Linked DNA regions of Homo sapiens: regions 1 and 3 are each linked to region 2. The links are contacts of gene promoters, found by promoter capture Hi-C in blood cells and fetal thymus (Javierre and others, 2016). All regions are on one chromosome and are shown on one strand. Each heading gives the region's core, a stretch centred on a gene start or on the middle of the fragment in contact. The rest is flanking DNA. Distances are from core to core; before and after follow the strand shown.

The links. The method cuts DNA at HindIII sites, captures the fragments that hold promoters and counts their contacts. A CHiCAGO score of 5 or more calls a contact.
Region 1: a contact is called between the fragment with the promoter of ATP2A2 here and the fragment with the promoter of BRAP in region 2, in 1 of 17 cell types (fetal thymus). The highest score is 5.3, in fetal thymus.
Region 3: the fragment with the promoter of FAM216A here is called in contact with the fragment with the promoter of BRAP in region 2 in 1 of 17 cell types (fetal thymus); the score reaches 7.3 in fetal thymus.

What each region holds. Positions count from the first base shown.
Region 1 is chr12:110,279,377-110,283,117 of GRCh38, forward strand. It overlaps ATP2A2 (ATPase sarcoplasmic/endoplasmic reticulum Ca2+ transporting 2), which reads left to right and starts at 1,871. Exons shown (of 20, transcript NM_170665.4): 1 at 1,871-2,531; 2 at 3,228-3,245; 3 at 3,337-3,419. The coding sequence starts at 2,414. RefSeq lists enhancers at 1,379-1,448, 2,566-3,320 and silencers at 1,539-2,138, 2,229-2,738. The HindIII fragment of the contact is 3,608 bases long and covers 1-2,504 here.
Region 2 is chr12:111,684,653-111,688,400 of GRCh38, forward strand. It overlaps BRAP (BRCA1 associated protein), which reads right to left and starts at 1,304. Exons shown (of 12, transcript NM_006768.5): 1 at 1,059-1,304. The coding sequence starts at 1,140. It overlaps ACAD10 (acyl-CoA dehydrogenase family member 10), which reads left to right and starts at 1,401. Exons shown (of 21, transcript NM_025247.6): 1 at 1,401-1,587. RefSeq lists enhancers at 1-328, 329-1,030, 1,031-1,732 and a silencer at 1,077-1,176. The HindIII fragment of the contact is 2,811 bases long and covers 507-3,317 here.
Region 3 is chr12:110,467,278-110,470,878 of GRCh38, forward strand. It overlaps FAM216A (family with sequence similarity 216 member A), which reads left to right and starts at 1,568. Exons shown (of 7, transcript NM_013300.3): 1 at 1,568-1,741. The coding sequence starts at 1,599. It overlaps GPN3 (GPN-loop GTPase 3), which reads right to left and starts at 980. Exons shown (of 8, transcript NM_016301.4): 1 at 879-980. The coding sequence starts at 926. It overlaps LOC124903016 (a long non-coding RNA gene), which reads right to left. Exons shown (of 3, transcript XR_007063459.1): 2 at 3,362-3,539; 3 at 3,012-3,174. RefSeq lists enhancers at 1,092-1,221, 2,142-2,311 and a silencer at 1,632-1,941. The HindIII fragment of the contact is 771 bases long and covers 1,184-1,954 here.

The sequences.
Region 1 (3,741 bases), core at 621-3,120, 1.4 Mb before region 2:
TCCTCCTGCCTCAGCCTCCCAAAATGCTGGGATTACAGACGTGAGCCACTGTGGCTGGGTAGCCACTTTAGACAGCAAAGACATCTCTGAGGAGGGGACATGTAAGCTGCGATCTGAATGGAAAGAGAACGACACAAGTGAAGAAGATCTGTGGGAAGAGCATTCCATACAAAGGCTGAGGTCAGGAACTCCTCCAGAAGCTCATAATTGCACCAGAGGTGCTTACAACCCCAAGCAGTGACAGTGGCACAGAATATTCAACATCAAATGCCTAAGCTAATTTCCAGGCTGAGAAAGGTAAACCATCCTTCTCCTGCCTGCAGTGCTTCTATCGGTCCTGAAAGAGACAGAGGAGGTAAGGGAGAAGAATTGGTACGAAATGGTGCAGAGCTGGTCTCAGAGGGCAACAACAGCCAGCCCTCCATGACCACACTCCCACCGTGCACTCACGTGCCCCTCTTGAAGCGGCTCTGATCCTGTGACCTAACCAGTTTCCACCTGGCTTCTCTCAGTGCGTTGCCATATAGTATAATTTTTTGTTTGTTTGTTTCGTGTAGGGTTTTGTTGGTTCTTTTCCAAGTATCAATCAAAACTACATGCCAACGTCCACTCCTTGGAAATAATTAAATGACATGACGTGCCTGATTTTTTCAGCTGGTGATGCACTGTAATTTGCATCTGCTGAAGGAATTTATCTTAAGTCCTGAAGCCCAGCCACTTGAGACAACTGAGGTGATTTTTCTGCTCTGCTTTTGCTCATGCGGATGGTGCGTTATTGTTAAACACAAAAGTGGACTAATTGCTTCATTCTGCAACCTACTCCGTGAAGAAAGCTGCTCTTCTTTGTGAAGAGAATATGTTCATGTTTTGTTCATGAATTCCATGCAATTTCCCATCCCCTTGTTAAGTAATGTAGCTTCTTTATATTGGCAAAATTCCCTTTATCTTGCTGTGACCTGCGCTTTGTCCTCCCGAGCAGAGCAAATCATCTGTGGTTTAAGAGCAGCTTTGGATTCAAGTCCCCTTTTCTCCTGTCGAGGGAAGTGAGTCTATGAAATGGCCTTCATCTGAAAGCCACAGCGAAGCACCTCCTAGCCCAAGTCTAGCTGCTGTGTGGCAGCTCCAGCGGCGTGAACTGTGACTGCCCTGCAGACACCTATCAAGCGCTGCGTCAGCTATTAATAATAAAATCAACTCTTCTCCCTCCCCCCCGCGAGGGGGGTTCCCTCGTCAGGGCCCAGAACCCGCTGGGGAAGAATCGGGGCTGGCGTGCGAAGGAGCTGGCGGCAGGGGGTGTAGGATGCGGTGTTCCCGAGGCGACAGATGAAGGATTTGGGTTGTGTGGGAAGTGAACTGCGGAATTCCTCCCCTTGGTTTCTGAGGGGGGCTCTGAAGGAGCCAGATTAGGATGCAGAGCGCAGCCCGGGCGACCGAGGGCGAGGAGGCGAGCCAAGGACATCAGCCCGAGGGCGCCTCGAGACGCCCCGCGTGGACCGCGCTCCCAGCTCCTCGGCCTCGCCTTCCAACCATCCGCCCACCGGCCCCAGAGCAGCGTGCCCACTGTGAGCGCCCCACCCTGCGTCTGCAGGTGGGTGGGTCAGAGAACCGCAGGCACAGAAGAGGGTACCCAGCTTCCCCTCCGCCAGCCCCGCGACCGCGGCGCGCGCGGCCTCGATCCGGGTTCCTAGGGGCGGCGCGCGGGAGGGGGCGGGGCCTGCGCGGCAGCGTGGGCGCCAGGCGCGCGGGAGGAGGGAGCCGGGAGGAGGGGGCGGGGCCGCGCCGCCCGCGCCGCGCTGGGCGCTCTCGGCCAATGAGCGGCGTCCACATGCCGCGGCGGCGGCGAAAGGGGAGGCAGCGGCCGATAAATGCTATTAGAGCAGCCGCCGCGGAGCCGTCCCCGACGCCACCTCCTTTTCCTTCGCCGCAGTTTCCTCCGCCGCTGTCGGGCGTGCGGCGCTGAGGGACCCGGGCGAGCGCGCCGCGCACCGCCCCGCCGGCTCGCCTCCCTCGCCGCGTTCCGCCCTCAGTGGTCTGCCGGGCGCCCCCTCCTCCGGCCCGGGCGGGGCCTCTGATCGCCTCAAGAGAGCGGGGAGGGGGCTCGGGGGCCGCGGCCTGCCCTCCCGGCGGGCGGCTGAGGGCGAGGGAGGCCCTCCCTTCTGGCGAGGGGAGGGAGGGTGGGTCAGGAGCCCCCAACCCGCCCTGCGGAGCTCGGGGCCGCGCGAGGGGCGGTTGTCTGGGGGAGGGGGCGCGGGGTGATTCAGCGCCCGGCGAGGCGGAAGCGGCCGCAAGAGGAGGAGGGGAGAGCCCGTCCGCGCCTGGGCTCCCGGGGTGGCACGAGCCCGCGGCCGGAGTGCGAGGCGGAGGCGAGGAGGCCGCGGGGACGGGAGGCGAGGCCGGCCGGGCCCCCGAAGCCATGGAGAACGCGCACACCAAGACGGTGGAGGAGGTGCTGGGCCACTTCGGCGTCAACGAGAGTACGGGGCTGAGCCTGGAACAGGTCAAGAAGCTTAAGGAGAGATGGGGCTCCAACGGTAGGTGCAGGGCGCTCCGCTGCAGGGGCCCGGCGCGGCCGGGAGAGCCAGGGAAGATGGCTGACCGGGCTCCACCTCGTGGGCTTCGGCTCCGCGCCCGCCGACAGCTGCGGGCGGAGGGTCGGGCCAGCGCGCCGGCCCCGCGGGAGAGAAAGGGGCTGCGGTCCTCGCCTCGCCTTCCCTGGACCTCTTCGCTTCTCGGGCCCTCGACCTTTTCGGCGCGCAAGGCTCGGAGGCTTCTCTCCAGCAGCAGCCGGCCCCGGTGGAGGGAGGGACGTGGCTTCTGCAGCTAGGTTGAGCCCGGCAAGACGTTTTCTCGTCCCCTGCCGATTTATGAGGAGTCGAGGTCGTTGGAAGGCCTCTGACCGTTCTTGTCCTACCCAAAGTTACACATCTGGCAGAAGTGATGACATCGCTGAAACCACTCCTAGGTTCAGGAGCCCGAAGTGATTTCACGCTTAGGGCTAGACCTCAGGCCATTGATTACAAAGAGTGCATGCTTCCTTGAGATATCTTCGTGGTATGCCCTCTGCTAAAAAAATCGGATATTCTTATAGCTAGGTCTGTGTTTTAAAGATATTGATGCTTAGAATTGTAGCAGTTCTTTTTAGAAAAACGAAGTGCTAAAATGTCTCTCTCTTTTTTTTTTTAACCTCCCTCTTGACACATTGCTTGACGAATTTCTACATTCTACAGAGTTACCGGCTGAAGAAGGTAATCTTAACATGCTGTTTCTGTTTTTTTTCCTCTGTTGGTGTGCTGATGGTAAGATGACAGTTAAAACACATGTGTTTGTTTCTTACAGGAAAAACCTTGCTGGAACTTGTGATTGAGCAGTTTGAAGACTTGCTAGTTAGGATTTTATTACTGGCAGCATGTATATCTTTTGTAAGTATAAAAAAATTTATTTTCTTTCCCCCCAAAAGCTGAAAGTATTCCATAGATAAATCAGAAAACAAATGATGTCCATTGGGTGAAAACATATTTGGAGTTGCAAGCTGTGTCTCTATGTTTAAAAACAATCTGGGCATTTTAAAATTACAAAACAAAACACTTGAAGCCATTGGTATTCAGAAAATAGATGCCTGACATTTACAGTGTGGTTAGGAGTTGTCCCAGAGTGTGGCATGGTCTTAGAAATTCTTGTGGTTTATCAGCTTTTAATATCAAAAAGTTCTTTTCTGGGAAGCCTTTAATGTTTTGGGTTCTT
Region 2 (3,748 bases), core at 54-2,553:
ATGAGCATAAGTTTTTTTTTTGTTTTTTTTTTTGAAATGGACTTTATCTCTTGTCGCCCAGGCTGGAGTGCAGTGCCACAATCTTGGCTCACCGCAACCTCCACCTCCCGGGTTCAAGCGATTCTCCTGCCTCAGCCTCCCCAGTAGCTGGGATTACAGGCACCTGTCACCACGCCCAGCTAATTTTTGTATTTTTAGTACAGACAGGGTTTCACCATGTTGGCCAGGCTGGTCTTGAACTCTCAACCTCAGGTGACCCGCCCGCCTCGGCCTCCCAAAGTGTGAGGATTACAGGCGTGAGCCACCGCGCCCGGCCAAGTATTTCTTGAATGAATGTTAGTTAATTATCTGAGGACCAAGGAACAGAGCCAGAGCTGCATTCCCCACTAAGGAGCTTCCTCACTTGTGTTAATGGTGTAAAAAGCTCAGACTCAAGTCCAGCTCACTGAGTTAGAATCCCAGTTTCACCCATTACAGATAACCTTGGGCAAATCAATTAATCACTAAGCTTCAGTTTCCCAATGTGTAAGAGGTACATGTCACATCCATCTGCCTCTTAGGGCTGTTGCAAAGATAATTAAAGAATACAATACACAAAAGGTGCTTAGTACAGTGCTGGGATATAGGAAGTGTCCAAATTTTAGTTATGACTATGGTTAGGGGGCACTTCAATGGATATCGTTCCAAAAGGGAACAATTTAATTAACCCAGGGACCGTCCAGCGTTGCTGGGGACCCAGTCCCTGCCTTTACGAAGCCCATAGGGAAGCAAGTGAGACAAACACACCACTCGACTATCTCGAGAGGGAGACGCGCCAGGTATAAACTAAATGCCCTCAGACGGCACAGGGAGGGAGGTTCGGGGCAGGGCTTCCCTGAGATAACAAACGGGAAGGCCTCTCAAAGGCGGATGGGAAAGAGAGGGATCCCGATTACCTCTCCGTGTCTTCCTGGGCAACAGCCCTCGCCGCGGGCTTTTCCCGGGCCAGTGCTTTGGGAAGGGAAGCCCTCCGGGCCCAGACCCGGCTACAGGGAATGCGGCGAGGCCGCGGGACTCACCCGCGGCGCTGAAGCCGAAGCCGGCGGGGACAGGCGAGTGTTCCGCGAGCTCCAATCGGATAACAACCAGTGACACACTCATAGGGCAGGCGCTGGCCGGCGCGGGCCCCGGCGGGCTCAGGCGAGGCTGGAAGGCGAGCCGAGAGGCCGAGCGGCCCGGGGCCGGCAGCGCCGCCACCACCTCAATGCAGTTGCCGCCGCCTCAGCAGCAGCAGCTCCTCGAACAGCCCTCGGAGCCACAACAACCTCCACTTCCGCCTCCCGGCCGCCGTCGCTGACCTGCGGTTTACGCATGCGCGCAGGACCGCGCACAGCGATTGGGCGGCGTGGCAGGGGTCACCCACTGCTCTTCCGGACGCAATTTTGAGGAGGTCGGAGCGGAAGGACGTCGTGGAGATTGCTTGCGCTGGGGTGCCACACTTAGGCTGAGCTGCAGGTTTTCGCACAGTCGCGAGTTAACCTCTGCTTGCTCCAGAGGCCTCGTCCTAATCCACCTCGGCTGACGGCGCGGGATCCCTGGCTCCGCGAGGTCTCCGAATTGTCCGAGCTATCTGCTATGCAGAACTTTGCCCCTTTTGTTGTGTTTGACTCCTGTCTCTAACCCTAGTCTGGATGGTTTTGTTTCTGTCCCACTTTACAGATAGGTACAACGAGGCTCAGAGAGGTGAAGTTCCTTCTAAGGGGCCGTAGAGAGTGGAGAGTCGATCGCTGTTCAGATAGCGATCTGGCTGGGCGCGGTGGCTCACGCCTGTAATCCCAGCCCAGAGGCTTAGGCGGGCGAATCACCTCAGGTCAGCAGTTCGAGACCAACCTGGCCAACATGGTGAAACCTCGTCTCTACTGAACATACAAAAAATTAGCCGGGCTTGGTGGCGCGCGTCTGTAGTCCAAGCTACTTGGGAGGCTGAGACAGGAGAATCGCTTGAACCCGGGAGGCGGAGGTTGCAGTGAGTCGAGATAGTGCTAGTGCACTCCCGCCTGGGCAACAAGAGCGAAACTCCGTCTCAAAAAAAAGAGAGAAAAGATGGTGATCTGCTGGTTACGAGCATAGTGCTGCAGTTAGACCGGGGTCCTCCTCCCCACCCTGTCACTTCACAAATGTTTACTGAGAGTCTAGACACCCTTGGGATGCTTGAGATACGTTGGCGTATAAGATAAACACAGTTCCTGTCCGTACTATGAGGTTGACCTACATCAGCAGTTGTGCAGTCTTGAACTAGTATAGTCATTGCATAAAGTTGGCATGATATCATGTCCTCATGCAGTTGTGAGGATGAAATGGAATTATGTATATGGAGATAACATTAGCTTTTCTGAGGCTCAGCATTCTTTCCAGTATGTCAGAGTGGCTTTTGTATGTAGATACTGACACAATCAATGCATATGGGACACATACATGACAGGATGCTACTCTAGGTACATTGTATAATGATACATATGTAAGTACATAGTACATTCTAGATGTGTGTGTGTGTGGACATAGTGCGTTCTAGATGTGTGTGTATCTGGACTATGACATGACCACAAGATACATGCGTATATAGATCTTGTGACTACATCCTATGAAATACGTTTCCATATGCCCTGTTTAAATCAGGGTTTCTCAACTCTGCACTATTAACATTTTGGGTCCTGATTATTCTTTTTTGTTTTTGGCAAGGGGGCGGGGTGTCCTGAGCATTGTAGAGTGTTTAGAAACATCCCTGGCCTGACCCACTAGATGTCAGTAGCACCTCTCCCCAGGTGGTGACAACCAATAATGTCTCTGGACCTTTCCAGATGTCTCCTTGGGGTTAGAAAACATAACCCTGTTGAAGAATCACAGGGTTATGTGAAAGTGCATAAACCATACACACATACTGTATGCATAAAACCTATGAGACCTCTTGTGAACTTTTTTAGTATATTACTATAGTAGATAACATTTCAACATGTGCCAGGTACTAATTTGAGTGTTTCATATACCTTGTGTCATGCAATGGTCACAACAACTTTATGAAACTGGTACTATGTCCCTGTTCTACAGAGGAGTAACCTGAGGCTTGGAGGAAGAGTAACTGGCTCAGGATTTCACAGGTAGTAGTGGCAGAGCTGGAACTGAAATTCAGGCAATCTGAATCCAGAACGAACATTCTTTATCTCTTTACCAAACAAACCTTTTTTTTTTTTTGTATTTTGAGACGGAGTCTCACTCTGTCGCCCAGGCTGGAGTGCAGTGGTGCCATCTCGGCTCACTGCAACCTCGGCTTCCTGGGTTCAAGCTTCCTGCCTCAGTCTCCCAAGTAGCTGGGACTACAGGCACACAGCACTGCACCCAGCTGATTTTTGTATTTTTTTTTAGAGATAGGGTTTCACCATGTTGGTCAGACTTGTCTCGAACTCCTGACCTTGTGATCCGCCCACTTCGGCCTCCCAAAGTGCTGGGATGACAGGCGTGAGCCACCGCGCCCGGCCCCCCCAAAGGCATTTTTCGTCTCTACTAAGCCCTCACACAAAATATACAAGTGTGTAAGTAAATTTCTCTTTCTATCATAAACATTGGCCTTGGCATAGGAACGTTAAGTAAAACTGAAAATGCAAATGAACCTTGACATTTTTAGTTTCAAATATTGCCCCCAAATTCAGCAAATTTCCAATTACTGTCGTTGCATGGTGGTATCCTCAGCAGATGGGTGCAGGACCCCCTGCAG
Region 3 (3,601 bases), core at 318-2,817, 1.2 Mb before region 2:
CCACGCCTGGCTATGTTTCCCACACATATGTTATTTGATCCATATCTTCACCATTCTCACTGTATTTGAATGTTCCTAACATTCCCTTAATATTTGTTTACAAGAAAAAATTTTATCCCTACTGTAAACTGAAAACCACTTATATTTGACATAACGTGAAATTAGACATAAAATTATATAAAATCTTTAAATGTTCTATTTTTAGCTAAATACAGGTGCCTATTAAAAGCTCTGAGACTAAGAACTGCTCTCTGAAAAGACCTGGGGATTAAAGAAGTGCTGAAGATACACACTAGCACCGAGCACAACTTCTCCTAAATGCGAAGTTGAGAACTGAAAGAGAAATGAAAAGGGAACAATTTCCCTAACACATTATCTGATGCTCCTTAATGTGGGGTCCATGTACCACCTACCACCTAAAAGCACCTTAAATACCAAAAGTCCATGTCCCAAGTTCTGAGAAACAGTAATTAATGAGACCCCACTTTACCCTCCTGGGAGCGAGACAGGGCCGGATTCTGGAGTTGAGACAAAACTGGATTTATATTTTTTTGCGGGGCAAAGAACTTAATTAACCTTTCTGTATCTCGTTTTCTGTAAAATGAGAAAAATGAGATCTCTCTCACAGGGTTGTTGTAGAAATAAGCGAGGCGTTTCATCTGCTGCCTGGGGCTTAAGTATACAATAAATATTAACAACTACCATTATTTCCCTTTCAAAACAACAACAAAAAAGAACGTGAAGCCAGACAGCAGAAATGAGTTGCGTGGGGTCTCAGGGTTCCCAGTACACACACCCGCCGGCTCACTCCCTCAGGACCCAATCTCCCGCCTTCCACGAACTCCTACTTTTCTCTCCTTGTCCCCGCAGATCCTCACCTTCCCGCTGCCCGCGGGGCCCATGACCAGCTGCGCATACCGAGGCATGTTGGCTCCCGGAGCCGCCCGCCACACTCCCTTAGCCTTCGCGCGACGCCCACTGAGCTCCGGGAAAGTGAAGTGCGAACCAATCGCAATCCACATTCTTTCTACGCCTCCAGTTCTACCACACCTCCTACTACGGGGCAGCCCGCGGGCCAAATCCCGTGAGAAACGCGTCCTGAGAAAAAAGGGGAGGGGCGAGGGAGAGGATTTGCGCGTGCGCAAAAGTAGTTGATGGAAATCGGCCGTTGGGATGCTGTCTAAGCTTGGATACCTGAGTAATAACGGACAACAGATAAAGCTCCGCATCCTTGCGCCACGTGCTTCGGTCCGTGGTTTGCGTGCAGACGTTTGACCTGTATGGTGACCCTCGCGATTTGCAAATGTGCTGAGGATCTGGAATACTGAAGTGGAAGGCACCTCTTGTTTTGGGGAGCATGTATATTTCCCTCCTGTGACGCACTGCTTCCACAGAGAGGTGCAAACGTGCAAACGCTCAGCGACCGCAGCGCTCCTGCCCCTCCCCCACCGTAACTCCGGGGTCGCGGATCTGCCCGCCCCGCTCTCCCGAAGCTGTTCGGGCAGTGTCCGAACGGCTTCGGAGGGGCGAGAAGCCAGCATCCGAGCCGCCTCTCCGGAATACCAGCAGCCTGACGCACGCGTGCTGTCGGGGGAGGGATGCTGGGACAGCTGCTCCCGCACACGGCTCGCGGTCTCGGCGCCGCGGAGATGCCCGGCCAGGGTCCGGGGTCCGACTGGACGGAGCGTAGCTCTTCTGCAGAGCCGCCCGCTGTGGCCGGGACCGAGGGTGGCGGCGGCGGGTGAGGTTGGGGGCCCCGGGGTAAGGGTGGCAGCATGGGGCCCCCGGGTCGTGAGGCCCCCGGGTCGTGAGCCCCGTGGAGGAGGGCTGCGGCCGACCTCTCGTCTCGGGGGCTGGCCCCGGTGCCCTCAAGTGAGAGGCGGGGAGCAGTTTTGTTGTGGACAGAGGGCAGAGGGGAGGACTGCCTCGCGGTTGAGGGAGGGTCTCTGAGGGAAGCTTCGGAGGAGCGTTTGGTGCAGTGGCCACGAGGTGACTGCGACAGTCGCCCGCGTGCATCTCTCTGCCCCGAGGGGGCGCTGCGAGCCCTGCTGGGACGTTTGCTGTCTGGCACAGGACTGTGTGTCCACCGAAAGGCGAGGCGGGAGGGACAGAGGAGGAAGATGTCCCCCGGTTCAACTGGGGGCATCCAGGCCCATAAACCAGTTCCTTCCCTCTAGTGACATGAGCCACCTTCCTGTCAAACGGGGATTTCTTTTTCTTTTTTTTTCTTTTCTTTCTTGTTTTTTGAGAGCGAGACAGTCTCGCTCTGTTGCCTAGGCTGGAATGCGGTGGTGCGATCTCAGCTCACTGCAACCTCAGCCTCCCAGGTTCAAGTGATTCTCCTGCCTCAGCCTCCCGAGTAGCTGGGATTACAGGCGCCTGCCACCACGCCCGGCTAATTTTTGTATTTTTAGTAGAGAGGTGGTTTCACCATGTTGGCTAGGCTTGTGTCGAACCCCTGACCTCAAGTGAGCCGCCCGCCTCGGCCTCCCAAATTGCTGGGATTACGGGGTGAACCATTGCGCCCGACCTCAAACGAGGATTTCTAATCGCCAATGAGACCAATGACTGAATATCCGAGGTGCCTTGATCTTGACATTTTCTTCACACTGAAGTTCCTTTTTTCACAAATCTATTTCGTTTTGAGCAGGTTTTTACACCTATTTCCTAGATAGTGAAGACAGCGAGCTGTTGAAGTCACTGCTGGAGACTCTACCTCCTCTTCCTCTCCCTACTTTATTCCCTAAAAGCAAGAACTGCGATATGTTTGCCGTTCAGTACAACCCGCAGTCAGGGCCCCTGTTGCACCCATGGCCATCCTTTTTGTTTTTTTTTTTTTGAGACAGAGTCTCGTTCTGTTGCCCAGGCTGGAGTGCAGTGGTGCCATCTCAGCTCACTGCAAGCTCCGCCTCCCGGGTTCACGCCATTCTCCTCCCTCAGCCTCTGGAGTAGCTGGGATTACAAGCGCCTGCCACCACGCCCGGCTACTTTTTTGTATTTTTAGTAGAGACGGGGCTTCACCGTGTTAGCCAGGATGGTCTCGATCTCCTGACCTCGTGATCCGCCCGCATGGCCGTCCTTTTTGTCTCTGGTGCTACTGAAGACTTCTTAAAGATGGGATGGAGTCTTGGGTTTCTTTTCTGTTCTTCACAGTCCTTGGCCGACTGCAGGATCCTGGTGTATCAGGAGATACGTGAATTTTTTTTTTTTTTTTTATTGAGACAGAGTCTCCCTCTGTCACCCAGGCTGGAGTGCAGTGTCACGATCTCAGCTAACTGCAACCTCCGCCTCCTGTGTTCAAGCAATTCTCCTGCCTCAGCCTCCCAAGTAGCTGGGACTACAGGTGTGCGCCACCACGTACCTGGCTAATTTTTGTATTTTTAGTAGAGATGGGCATGAGCCTGTAATCCTGGAAGGTTCTATTATGATCCCCACTTTATGGATGACAAAACAGGCACAAAGAGGTTGTTTGTCCTTTCCTTTTATCTCCGCCTGTCGTTCATCTCCATGCTTCCTTTAGTTTATCCAAACTCTTAAAACTACAATTAAAAAAAAAGACAGTATGCCCTTCAGTTTGGTTTAAGGAACCCCATTAAAAAAC